4 separate regions of the Homo sapiens genome follow, and regions 1, 2 and 3 are each linked to region 4. Evidence: promoter capture Hi-C in 16 types of primary human blood cells and fetal thymus (Javierre and others, 2016). All regions are on one chromosome and are shown on one strand. The core of a region is centred on a gene start or on the middle of the fragment in contact, and the rest is flanking DNA. Distances in the headings are between cores, read along the strand shown.

Evidence for each region. The method cuts DNA at HindIII sites, captures the fragments that hold promoters and counts their contacts. A CHiCAGO score of 5 or more calls a contact.
Region 1: a fragment that was not itself captured here is called in contact with the fragment with the promoter of UFL1-AS1 in region 4 in 4 of 17 cell types (fetal thymus, naive CD4 T cells, activated CD4 T cells and 1 more); the score reaches 7.3 in fetal thymus.
Region 2: a contact is called between a fragment that was not itself captured here and the fragment with the promoter of UFL1-AS1 in region 4, in 3 of 17 cell types (non-activated CD4 T cells, total CD4 T cells and total B cells). The highest score is 7.7, in non-activated CD4 T cells.
Region 3: a contact is called between a fragment that was not itself captured here and the fragment with the promoter of UFL1-AS1 in region 4, in 3 of 17 cell types (fetal thymus, non-activated CD4 T cells and activated CD4 T cells). The highest score is 7.0, in fetal thymus.

Annotation. Positions count from the first base shown.
Region 1 is chr6:96,876,198-96,878,971 of GRCh38, forward strand. No RefSeq gene overlaps it. Among named protein-coding and RNA genes, the nearest start is that of NDUFAF4, 20 kb to the right of the region's middle. The HindIII fragment of the contact is 174 bases long and covers 1,247-1,420 here.
Region 2 is chr6:96,941,489-96,944,249 of GRCh38, forward strand. All of the region lies in intron 1 of KLHL32 (kelch like family member 32), which reads left to right. Among named protein-coding and RNA genes, the nearest start is that of KLHL32, 18 kb to the left of the region's middle. The HindIII fragment of the contact is 6,637 bases long and covers 1-2,761 here.
Region 3 is chr6:96,832,978-96,835,677 of GRCh38, forward strand. The region is part of intron 1 of GPR63 (G protein-coupled receptor 63); the gene reads right to left. Among named protein-coding and RNA genes, the nearest start is that of GPR63, 3.1 kb to the right of the region's middle. The HindIII fragment of the contact is 1,340 bases long and covers 726-2,065 here.
Region 4 is chr6:96,520,210-96,523,126 of GRCh38, forward strand. UFL1-AS1 (UFL1 antisense RNA 1) reads right to left here and starts at 1,505. Exons shown (of 4, transcript XR_007059687.1): 1 at 1-1,505. It overlaps UFL1 (UFM1 specific ligase 1), which reads left to right and starts at 1,597. Exons shown (of 19, transcript NM_015323.5): 1 at 1,597-1,741. The coding sequence starts at 1,665. RefSeq lists enhancers at 1-313, 314-1,185, 1,186-2,057, 1,202-1,391, 2,058-2,917. The HindIII fragment of the contact is 5,811 bases long and covers 1-2,917 here.

The DNA.
Region 1 (2,774 bases), core at 84-2,583, 360 kb after region 4:
CCAGGAGGCGGAGGTTGCAGTGAGTTGAGATGGCACCACTGCACTCCAGCCTGGGTGACACAGCAAGACTCCAACTCAAATAAATAAATAAATATCATTTACTGATCAATTTCTCTGTGTTCTATATTAATGAAATACAGAAATATAAAAGACCAATCTACTGTCAAAGAGGGAAACACCAAGATCAAAAACATATACATAGAGTTTTTCCTTTTTTTACGCTGCATAAAATCCTTCTTCCCTCCAGGGGTACCCACAATAGCACTCCCTGGGGCAGCTGTAATTTCCAAAAAGAGATACATGGAGTGGGATGCTGAAAAGTGTCCTGAAACACATGCCCTTGCATTATAAAATGTTAAGAGAAAAAATAAGGCAAAAACTTGAGTCAGTCTGGTGCTTTCCTCTGTAGGGCCTATGAGGATACATGTTTCTTCCCTCATTGAGTCAGATTTTATGATCATAGTGTCCTCAGATACAAGATTCAAATCATTTTCAAGAGCCTAACATCATTATTTTAAAACAAGGCACTGCCATTTTAAGCAAAACAGATTATGTAAATGTCAGTATATTTTAAAACAATCGAATTTCTCTTTAGCTAGGAACCATTCATTCTGTAAGAGTCTTTTTTCAGCATCTAAGGTTGGTATTGTTGTATACTAGAGAAGCCAAAATTCAGTGACCAGTTTTACTTTTCTGCCAAAAAGCCTGATTATTTTTAAACATTCCTGATAGACATTTTGCATCTCTTTTTCTACTCTGAATTTGAGTCGCAGCCTTCTGGCAATATGATGTTTTCAAGCACAGATTCGATATGTATAAGCCATCCGTTTTTCTGAAGATTTATAATCGGTAATTTTAGAAGGATTCCGGCCTTTATCACATCTTAGTTTAATGAAACATCTATGCTAGTATTTTCTAAAGTTCTTTTGGAAACAAAATCTCCTGAAAGAGTTCCAGCCTGTGAAAGTGAAAAACTCATTTAAATAATCAGTTCCGAACAACATTTCTGTTTATGTTAAGAATGCTGCTCTGATATTTAAAGTGGTTTAAGAAATCCAACCAGTGAATATAAAATTAAGCATAATTTTCTCTCCTCTAAGAGAGCACGGAAGCTCCAGAGAAACTGGCAACTCAGAAGATGTGTGGCACCGTGCCCGCTCCAAGGAGTAATGCTGAATGCTTTTGCATTCAGGTTTTGCAAAAACTTCATGCACTTCAGAACCCATGCTTACTAACTGAATTTTCAAGCTTCTCTTTTCCCCTTTCTTGTGGAAGCCCAACTTCCTGTGCCATCATTGAGCATACTGAGGCTCCCTGATCTTTCTCAAAATTCTACTAATAAGCCAAATGTACAATTTCAAACAAAGAAAGCCATTTTCTGGTCCCAAGGCTAGAGCTTTGAAAGTGTGGAAAGTTCAAAAGCTTAAGTTTTTTATTTGACTCCTTTTGGCTCAAATGTTGAATGGTCATTTAATTATTTTTTAAAAATGTATCCTGTTATTTCACGGGGTAAAAAGGGAACTTCATGAGACTCAGGAAGACAATACCCAAGCAAATGCCTGGGCATTAAAGATTGGATACAGAGAAGGATCTTTCAAAACACCTAGGAGAGCTCTTAATTTACTGATGCTCTGGTTTCACTCACCAAGGTACCATTATCTGTGTCTCAAAGGAAGTGCAGGTTAGAGAGCATGTGGGCCCAGGCCTCTTTGATACAGGGATCACCTTCTGTGGGTTGCTCTCCTTCCAGGCTAAAACCCATCATCTTCGAGGGTTGGAGGGTGTGGGCCGTGGTGGATCCTGCGGGGTCAGCTCCTAGGTTAAAATGTAGGCCCACTTTGGGGGATCCAACCTCATCTTTATGGCAGGTTTTCTTACCGTGGAGTAGGAGGTCTCATACCAGCAAGGACAGAAGTTTTGCCTGTTTCTTTCACAGAGGAGTCTAGTAGGGTAACATCAATCTTTTTCAGCTGTTATTCCACATTTTTTAAAACCACAGTCATCTTTTTGCCTTACATCTTTTTGCTTCACCCACATTTGTTGAAAAACTTTAATGGGTGGCCAGTACAGCTATAAATTACTCTGACTCTTAATTCCATTTTCTTCATAAAATTCAACACTGACTCATTATGGTTTGAAATGTTTATTCAGGATTAGTGAGAAATTACAGCTGGTTAGACAGCCAGAGGGCCTTTTTCATTACAATGAGAAATAAACATTGAATTCTGAGAGTAACAAGCCATGTACTGCCTTGAAACAAGCATGGCATGAATCTGATTTCAGCAAACTCTGAAGCCCTTATTCAGGTTAAAGTGAACCAAAAATGTAGCAGCTCAGGGCTGTGTGCAATTTTAGATTGAGTGTCCTCATTATAGGGTAAAAATAGAAATATCTAGGTAATATTACTGTGTTGTTCTGAGGTAAAGCAAGGAAATGAGCCTCTGTGACTTCAGTTTCTTCTGGAATCCTTCTGAGAATAAGATGTTTATTAAGCTAAGTATACAACATGATGAATGAGGAAGGATAAATGATCGGCTAAATTGTATACTACATTGAAAAAAATAAACACGAAGTTGGAATTTTGAAAAAGGAAAATTAGATTGCTGGGAAAGAGAGGAGTTTGAGTCCTGGAGGAGGAAAATAGCTTAATCTCCTTTCTCCATCCTCTCTGACATATCAGTGAAAGTAAATCAAGACTGCTGCAGATATGTGCATTACTTTAAAACCTTTTTAGCTGTATCTTCATCCCTGGCTTACCCAGCCTCAAAACTATC
Region 2 (2,761 bases), core at 82-2,581, 420 kb after region 4:
TTCTGAGTGACTTACATTTTAGTCAAATGAAATGATAGCTCTGAGAAGCATTGATATTATTAAGCAGAAGAGGTTTGATATGATGTGATGACCAAAAAACAATCAAGGTAAGACTAGATGTTGTAGTCAACTTCACGTAATCCACGAAAGCCCCTCTTATGCTATCTCTTGAATAAGTGAGCCTGAGAAAGTATCCTCTCAGGAGCCTCTGTGGGGTTCCCTGCTGCACAAGGATCACCTGGGTTGGTGTCACATAGCTGCCTTTTTTCTCTGATTTGTCCTTTACTGATCTCTTCCATCTAAGCAATGAGAAGACCCCCAAGAACAATTTGGAACACTTTCCTCTGACCTCTTACTTTTTCTCTGTTGTGTGTAATTGGGATGAGGGGTCAGGTGCAGGAAGTGGTTGTCCCATAACTTTTTGAGAATCAAATAAATGGTCCAGATCCTTATTCCTATGCAAAATGCATGTATGAATATGGTCTCAGAGAAAGAATGCAGAAAAAGACTGGCATATGTACTGTATATATAGTAACTTAGGTAAGGTCTGTTTATGGAACCCCTTTAGAAACCTCTGTTCTTAACTATCTTGGGCCATGATCTGAAAGAGTTCCCTGAAGCACATGTGTTGCTCTAACATTCTCCTGCTTTACAGCCAGCGGTTACCCCACAGTCACTGTTTGTTAGCTTAGGCTTCACTGCCTTTTGCAGCCCAAGATCTGCTGGCCCCACTTGTCTGGGTCAGTCCAGACTGGTGCTGCCCCTGTACTACTGCTGTCCCCCTCACCATCCTTTCCAGCTACTGCTGCCACCTCGCACCTGCCAGATGCCCAACATGCTTCTTCACCTCAATCTCAGTCCAAAATCTGTGCATCAAGCCATCTGTGCTCAATACCCATTTCCTCCATGAAACCATTCCTGATTAGCTCTACCATGCAATAATTTCCCTTGTTCTAGACATCTTCATCTAATCTGCCATTTAGCTGTGGAGAGTTGCCTTTTGTTGTTCTCTGGTTATCTTATGTGTGTTTTCTTAATTTGAAAGTATATGAATGATAGAAGCTATGTCTTGAAGTGTTAAGGCTGGAAAGGACATTAGCATTGAAATCCTCAATCTTTTATCCCACTTCAGGAAATCAGTAACAGTGACTTGCTACAGCTGTGGGGTGTGTGTGTGTGTGTGTGTGTGTGTGTGTGTGTGTGATTCAGAATATCCCTTCAGGGTCATATTTGATTCTCAAGGAAGAAGAGAGAGGGGAGAAAGCATAGAGAGATTGAAAAAGACTTTCCCCAGGTTATTCTGATGCCACCACCTCCCTTTCTACCTCCATCTCTAGTTTTTTATTGTCCTCATTCTGCAGAGAATCACTCCTTACGGCAGAATGGCTTTCGATCAAGCCTGAGTAATGTGTAGCAACCTGTTCACCTCTCTCTTGCCCACATGCCACAGTTAAAAATTAAATTAAGCATTCAGGGCTAGAGATTTAGAGGAGGGACTGTAGGCTAAAAGAGAAAAGAGAAATGAGATGTATTGTTCATGCTCCCTCTACACACACACACACACACACACACACACACACACTCTGTACATACACACACATATATGCACATACATATACACATATACACATACCAGCATATAGACACATATGCACACACATATATACACATACATACACACACATGCCTATACATACACACATACATTCTAACCACCTATCCTGGGGTAAAGGACTGTGATAGGGCCATTATTCTTTTCCTCAAAATGGATTTGGCTTATGGTAAATGCAGAGTTCATATTCCTCTAGAACCAGCTCTTAAAGGGTTGGTCTCTTGGTGTCATTCACACAAGACCTGTGCGGTAATATGATATTTACTTCTATTTCCAAGAAGAAGTAAAAAAAAAAAAAAAACCTTATACTGTTCTACCAAGGAGATTTCTCACCCACACACAGGCTGACACCTGTTTTACTTATTACTGCTGACCCCCAATGTTGGATAACTTCACATCAGCTGTAAATCCCACAAACTGATTTAATTGGATTCCTCCACATTTTGTATGAGAAAGCAGAAGCCCAGGGAAACAAACTGGCTTGGCCAGTGAAACCCTTAGTAGCAGAGCCGGGACCAGGACCCAGGTCTCCGAGGTCTTGTCTTTACTGGTTGCTCTTCTTTGGCTTTGCGGCCCCTGTAGTGCCTCGCACAAACACATTTCATAAGCCTTCACTGCTTCCTTTTCCAGTTAAACACTTCGAGCTTCCTGCTTTTTTCTTTTGCCATATGCACAGACACTTGCCCCAGCCATCTGGGGAAGGGAAAAGTCATATCTGGCAGGGGAACGAGTGTGCAGATGCATTCTTTTTATAATTACTGAAAAGAAGGTTGTTGGAGGTATGATTTATTTAGCCAGCTTCTTCAGATCTAGATTCAAAAGCTGTTCTCATGTTCAGAAAATATTTTATTTTGTACAAAACTCTCAGGACATTAATTCCTTCTCAACCTGTGGTCTCATTTTTCAGCATGTGCCTCTCACTGAAAGCTAGTTCACCACCAGCATTAATTTGACCCCCAGCTGTATTCGTTCCCTGTCAGTTCTTGTCCTCCAGGCTGTTGCTCATCGTTATATCAAAGATGGGAGCAACTGGAATTAGATGCCTGTGATTATTAAGACGGTAATTACTGATCATGCTGACACCAGTAATATTAACTGGTGTTTAAATAATTTAAAATGTTACCTATGAGGCATGCATGAATTCAAGGT
Region 3 (2,700 bases), core at 146-2,645, 310 kb after region 4:
CAAAAGAAGGAAAAACATCTGAAGAAGTGCTGAGTAGGAACAAGCTGAGAGAACAGACTTTCTGCTAGTGATAGACAGTGTGAAACTTTAGAAGGTATCGTGGTTTATGCAGGGTTAATCAAAATGGAGTAGGAAGACTGTGTGCTTCAAATACAGGGGAAATGGAGTAAGTTACAATGATGAAAAGAATGGATCTTACTACAAAAGCCCACTTACCTGAACATTTTTCCCTCTTGAAGACAATGGATGTTATGCCTACACCCCAACTCCCTTTGTATCCACATCCTCCCAGGATCAACTTGAACAAAAAATCCTGCACCAGACAGCCTCAACCAAATACCATACCAAATACATGGGATAGATTTAATTGATTCTCAAATAATTTTCAGTTGAAACTCTTACTCTGATCTAAACTTCAGGCTTCTTTAAATGCCTACAAATGTTCTCTCTCTAAAGTTACCTACGCATTTGTTTTTGTTTTGTTTTATATTGTATAAAGTAGGAAGATGTAAAGATGCCTCATTTTAGGAGAAAGGTAACAGCTAGAATACAGAATCATGTCCCTTCTGCACCAGCCTCCCCAAGGAAGATCCTTAGAAGTTTCCACAGAAAAGAATTTGCCTAAAATATTTTTCAAATGCTTTAATAACATAGACTGAGCTAAGTCAATTGAGAGAAAGAAGTTAACCAAGAAGCTTTGCTCAAAAACCCTAAAAGGTATGTAAAGCTTATAACTATAATAACACATAAAGGTTTAAATTGAAAATGATGTTAAGAATTTGAAAATGATCTAAGAATCAATTAATATATATGCCAGGTGATTGGTACAGTATCTGGCTGGGGGTTTTTCTAAATTGTATCTGGGAAGATGTAATTCTTTAGCATATCACTCAAAGGAAATGCTGATAATAATAACCCTATTATTAATTTCAATAGGTGACCACTAGATTGCCCCCATACCTGCAAATATACCATCTATTCCCCAAGACCCGAGAGCTGTGTTAAAATCCAACTTTTCTAACTCTTCATTATGTTTATAATGAACATGAATGAGCTTTCCTGTGTATTAAGCTAGAGTTTCACGCTTGAGTTTTCTGAATCTTCTGTCATACAAACAGAAGTGGATACAAATCTTGTCCATATTTACTGGTGCAGAGGCTAGAATGCATTTTATCCTATGTGTCAAACTTAAAGCCTGAAACAGCTTGCTGTCAGCTTCAGAAACCATTTTTACAAGCATGGCATACCGCCTCAAGCCAACCAAATCCTAAAGCATGTTGGGCTGCCCACACTTCAAATCATTTGGAATGTTCTCATGTTTTGTGGTTGCAAAAGTACCAATTTTGTGGATCATCTAGTTCAAATTGAGGGCACATCTAACCTTAAACAGAAAATTCCCCGGAAATTGAAACTATAACTGACCAGGATCACATCAGCTCTTAAGATCTATGATCTCAGGCTGGTAGTCAAACATCTCAAATGTTGTGTTTTGAAAGTTGAAGAAATGCAACATAAACTCTGTGAAACTCATTCATGTGTCTTCAAGGAAACACTAAGAACTCATCCTAAATATACATATGTCATAGTTGCAAAAAAAAAAAGGAAAAAGTGCCACCTGCAACAAAGTAAAGGTGATTTGCAGCAAATATAAACACATTTCTGGTAAACAGCTAGCAAATTAAAGAAAAAAAAACCGCCTAACAGATTACTTCATTTCATTTCTAATTTTCATACATAAGCTGAAATATAGCAGCTTCAGCTGTGAAATGTGGTAACAAACATAACAAAGGTGAATGAAATAGTTTTGCTTGTAGTAACTGGAGCACTGTATTTATACATATTGTTTTTCCAAGCATTAATGGGTCCCTCTCTCAAATCAAGTGCTTAAGACATCATTTCACAAATTGGAGTACCAGAACTTCCCCAAGGTTTGCCTCTCATGCCTTTGAGGTCTACTCTCTAAATCCCAGATCTATGAAGAATGTCCTAAAGGTTATTTTTGAAGTATTAAAAGAAGAAAACACTATATTGACAAACTAAATTTTACCTAGAATTTGCCTATTGAAGCTTAAGAAATGCCTGGTTCAATTATCCATTGGCAGGGTAATTCAATCCATTTGAATAGATAAATGTGGTTAGGATATGGTTCCCTGATCCAAGCCTTGTTAAGAGTTCGAGAACATACTGAAAACCAGTGCTTTTTAACTTAACTGATATTGACTAAAATGCTGAAAAGATGACAAGCCCTAGCAATAACTATTTTTAGCTGATATTTTAGACCTACTGTTCCTGGTGCACATGTATTATTAGGTCCCTAAATGGTTTTCATGTTTTTTATATACTCAATAGCATATACAGATATGGTATATATAGTTATACTATATATAGTATGGATACATAAATATAGATATATGTGTGATATGGATATATACATATACAAATCCACCTCTGTGTGTATCATTTCCAAAATACTCATTCACAAAACAATCAACCCAAATTAAATAAACCATAAACAAAATCTCAAGGTGCTCAAGTAACTCTAGGAACTAAGTCACATCCACTTAGGAACACTAAATTCTTACTTTCTTGCTTGCAGTCCAGCAAACTTAAGGTAAAACAGTAACTACATAGGGGTTTTAGTTATGTTTATTTTTCCTAAGCAAATTTTTCTCCAAGAATGTTCAGCTTGCTGAAATTTTC
Region 4 (2,917 bases), core at 255-2,754:
CCCATATAAGGTAACTTCCAGACGTTGCCATGGCATCTGTACACTGTCATGGCACTGGTGGGGGTGTCTTTTAACATGATAATGAATTATAATTAGCATATAATGAGCAGTGAAGACGACCAGAGGTCACTGTATTCATCATCTTGGTTTCTGGTGGGTTTTGGTTGGCTTCACTACTGCAACCTGTTTTATCGGCAAGGTCTTTATGACTTGTTTTTCCTGCCTGTGGACCTTCTATCTCACTCTGTGACTAACCTCCTGGGAATGCAGCCCAGTAGGTTTCAGCCTTATTTTACCCAGCCCCTATTCAAGATGGAGTTGCTCTAGTTCAAACGCCTCTGACAACTAGTCACCCTGCTGTGCTATCAAATACTTGATATTATTCATTCTTTCTAACTGGAATAATATTTTTTAAATAGTAAAGAGTGAGATACATGAACTCCAAATATCTGAGACAGGTCACAATCAACTCAGAAAGTTTATTTAGCCAAAGTTAAGAACTTGCATCCATGACATGGCACAGATCCTGACAACATGCGCCCAAGGTGGCTGGGGCACAGCTTGGTTTTACACATTTTAGGGAGACATGGGGCAGCAATCAATATATGTAAGATAAACATTGGTCTGATCTGGAAAAGCGGGGCAACTCCAAGTGGGGAGGAAGTTCCAAGTCATAGGTAGATAACAGACAGTTGCATTCTCTTATGAGCCTCTCCAAATGAGGCAATCAGACATGCATTTATCTCAGTGAGCAGAGGGGTGACTTTGAATAGAATGGGAGGCAGGATTCCCTAAGCAGTTCCCAGTATGACTTTTCCCTTTAGCTTAGTGATTTGGGGGTCCCATGATTTATTTTCAATTCATAAGATATAAAAAAGATATAAAAAAGAAAGGTACACCTGAGTAAATATCTACTCAACAGGGAAGCAGGATACATGTTCTCTTTGCTTTCCCTGTTTCCTTGATAGCCATGCACCTTATGTTTATATTCCTCATTATTTGATGAAGTTAATCATTGCAATAAGAGAAATACGAAAGACTCTAGAACTCTAGACACGAAAGCAATTATACAGCCTTTATGACACGCAAATTTATTCACTCTGTAAAAAAAAAGTAATTACTTTCGGTAGGGTCTCCCATGTATCTTCCAAAAGGCAGACTGCTCTGGGTGCATGTAAAAATTAACACGATACCCTATACAAAAGGGAATGCTCAGAGTTAACAGCTAGAGAAGAGAGGCGCCAATCTTAGACACAGGCTTATTCCTCCGCACCCTCCCCCAAAACAAATGGAGGACAGAAGAAAAAAGAAAAGTAGTTAATACAACTATTACTCTACGGAAATATTAGGGGTAGCGCAAACAAAGTTCTGACACTAAACTTTACTGAGCCCTGCATCCTGCCCACGACCCCCCCAGAAACACCTACGCACCACTCTCCTAGCCGCCGCAGCCCCGCCAGTCTCGCCGGGAGGAACCCCCAGCGCCGCGGTACAACCACGGCACTTCCGCCCGCCCCCCGCGCCTCGGGCGCAAGCGTTTGGTGTGTCTGCGTCGGGGGCGGAGCCTCTTGTCCCTCTGCGCGGCCCGTTCCGCCTCTCTTCTCCCACCGCCTGTCGGCTGACGTGTCTGCAGTTCCTCCGCGTCTACTGCGAGTCAGGCCGTGATGGCGGACGCCTGGGAAGAGATTAGGCGGTTGGCGGCCGACTTCCAGCGGGCGCAGTTCGCCGAGGCCACGCAGAGGTGCCCGACCCTCCCTCTCCTTTGTGGAGCCCAAATTAGGCCGTGGGCGGACACGCCTGTATCTGGGACTTTAGACCCGCGGCCCTGCATCCCGGGTCTTCTCGCTGCTTGTCACCATTCTCTCCTCCTCCCTCTGTCCCGAGCCTGGATCGCAGTTCCAAGTCCAAGGCTCGGCGGGAAAGTCCTCAGCCTAGGACGCCCTGGAGCCCCCCAGCCCAGCTGCAGCGAAATGCTGGCGCGCCCCGCCCCACCATGGACGGGGCCGGTGATTTCGAGCTGCCTTTATTGAGCATTTCTTTGACCCTCCCTCACCCACCAACCACCAAATCACTGTGACATCTTGGCTATTATACACTTCCTGATCTAGAATGAGCTCGAAAGGAGAGGCTAACCCCCGCCCCCAGTACAGTACTTGGCAAATAGTATGTTGATCCTTAAAACTTCTTGCCCTTTTATCTCTCGTAACAGACCTAGGGCTAGACCCCTGACCCCATCTGTTATTCAGGGCACTGACATTTTCTACAAGCCCACTAACCTTTGGAGGATGTGTCCAGAGGAGCCTAACTCTGCTTTTTAAAAATAACGCTAATAGAAGCCTTTCTATTCTTTGACTACTTCCTACCTGCGATGTTTTATTCCTTTTGAGCCGGAAGACAGCAATCCCCTTATGCTGTATTTTCTACCACTGATAGCAAACTCGTAACTGCATGGGTAACTAACGTGGGTAAAAGTTATGGTTTCACTAGGCCACATCCCCTGCCTGCTTGCAGACCATGTGTGTAAGTGAGGCAATTATGCACTTAATTTAAAAGAAAATTCTGATTAAACTGGAAATTAGGGCATTTTTTGTTTTGTTTTGTTTTGTTTTTTCTTTTTTCCTACCTAAATAAATGTCTTCAATTTTCCCTTCAGATTTGAAGATTGGAAGCAGGCCTGTAAGAGACAACAGACTTGAAATTTGTGATGGGATGATGTGTACCAATTAAATAAATGATTTAAGCATATGTAAACCTACTTACTCTGAAAGGTTTTTTTTTAACTTATTGAATCAGTTAGTGAAAAATACAGATATTGTGATGTAGAAGTTAGTGACTAAACAAACTTTTTAAAAGCCTGTTTTCATACATTGTATTAATTTTATTGAGCGCCAATGTCTCAAGTGGACTTTTGAAACAA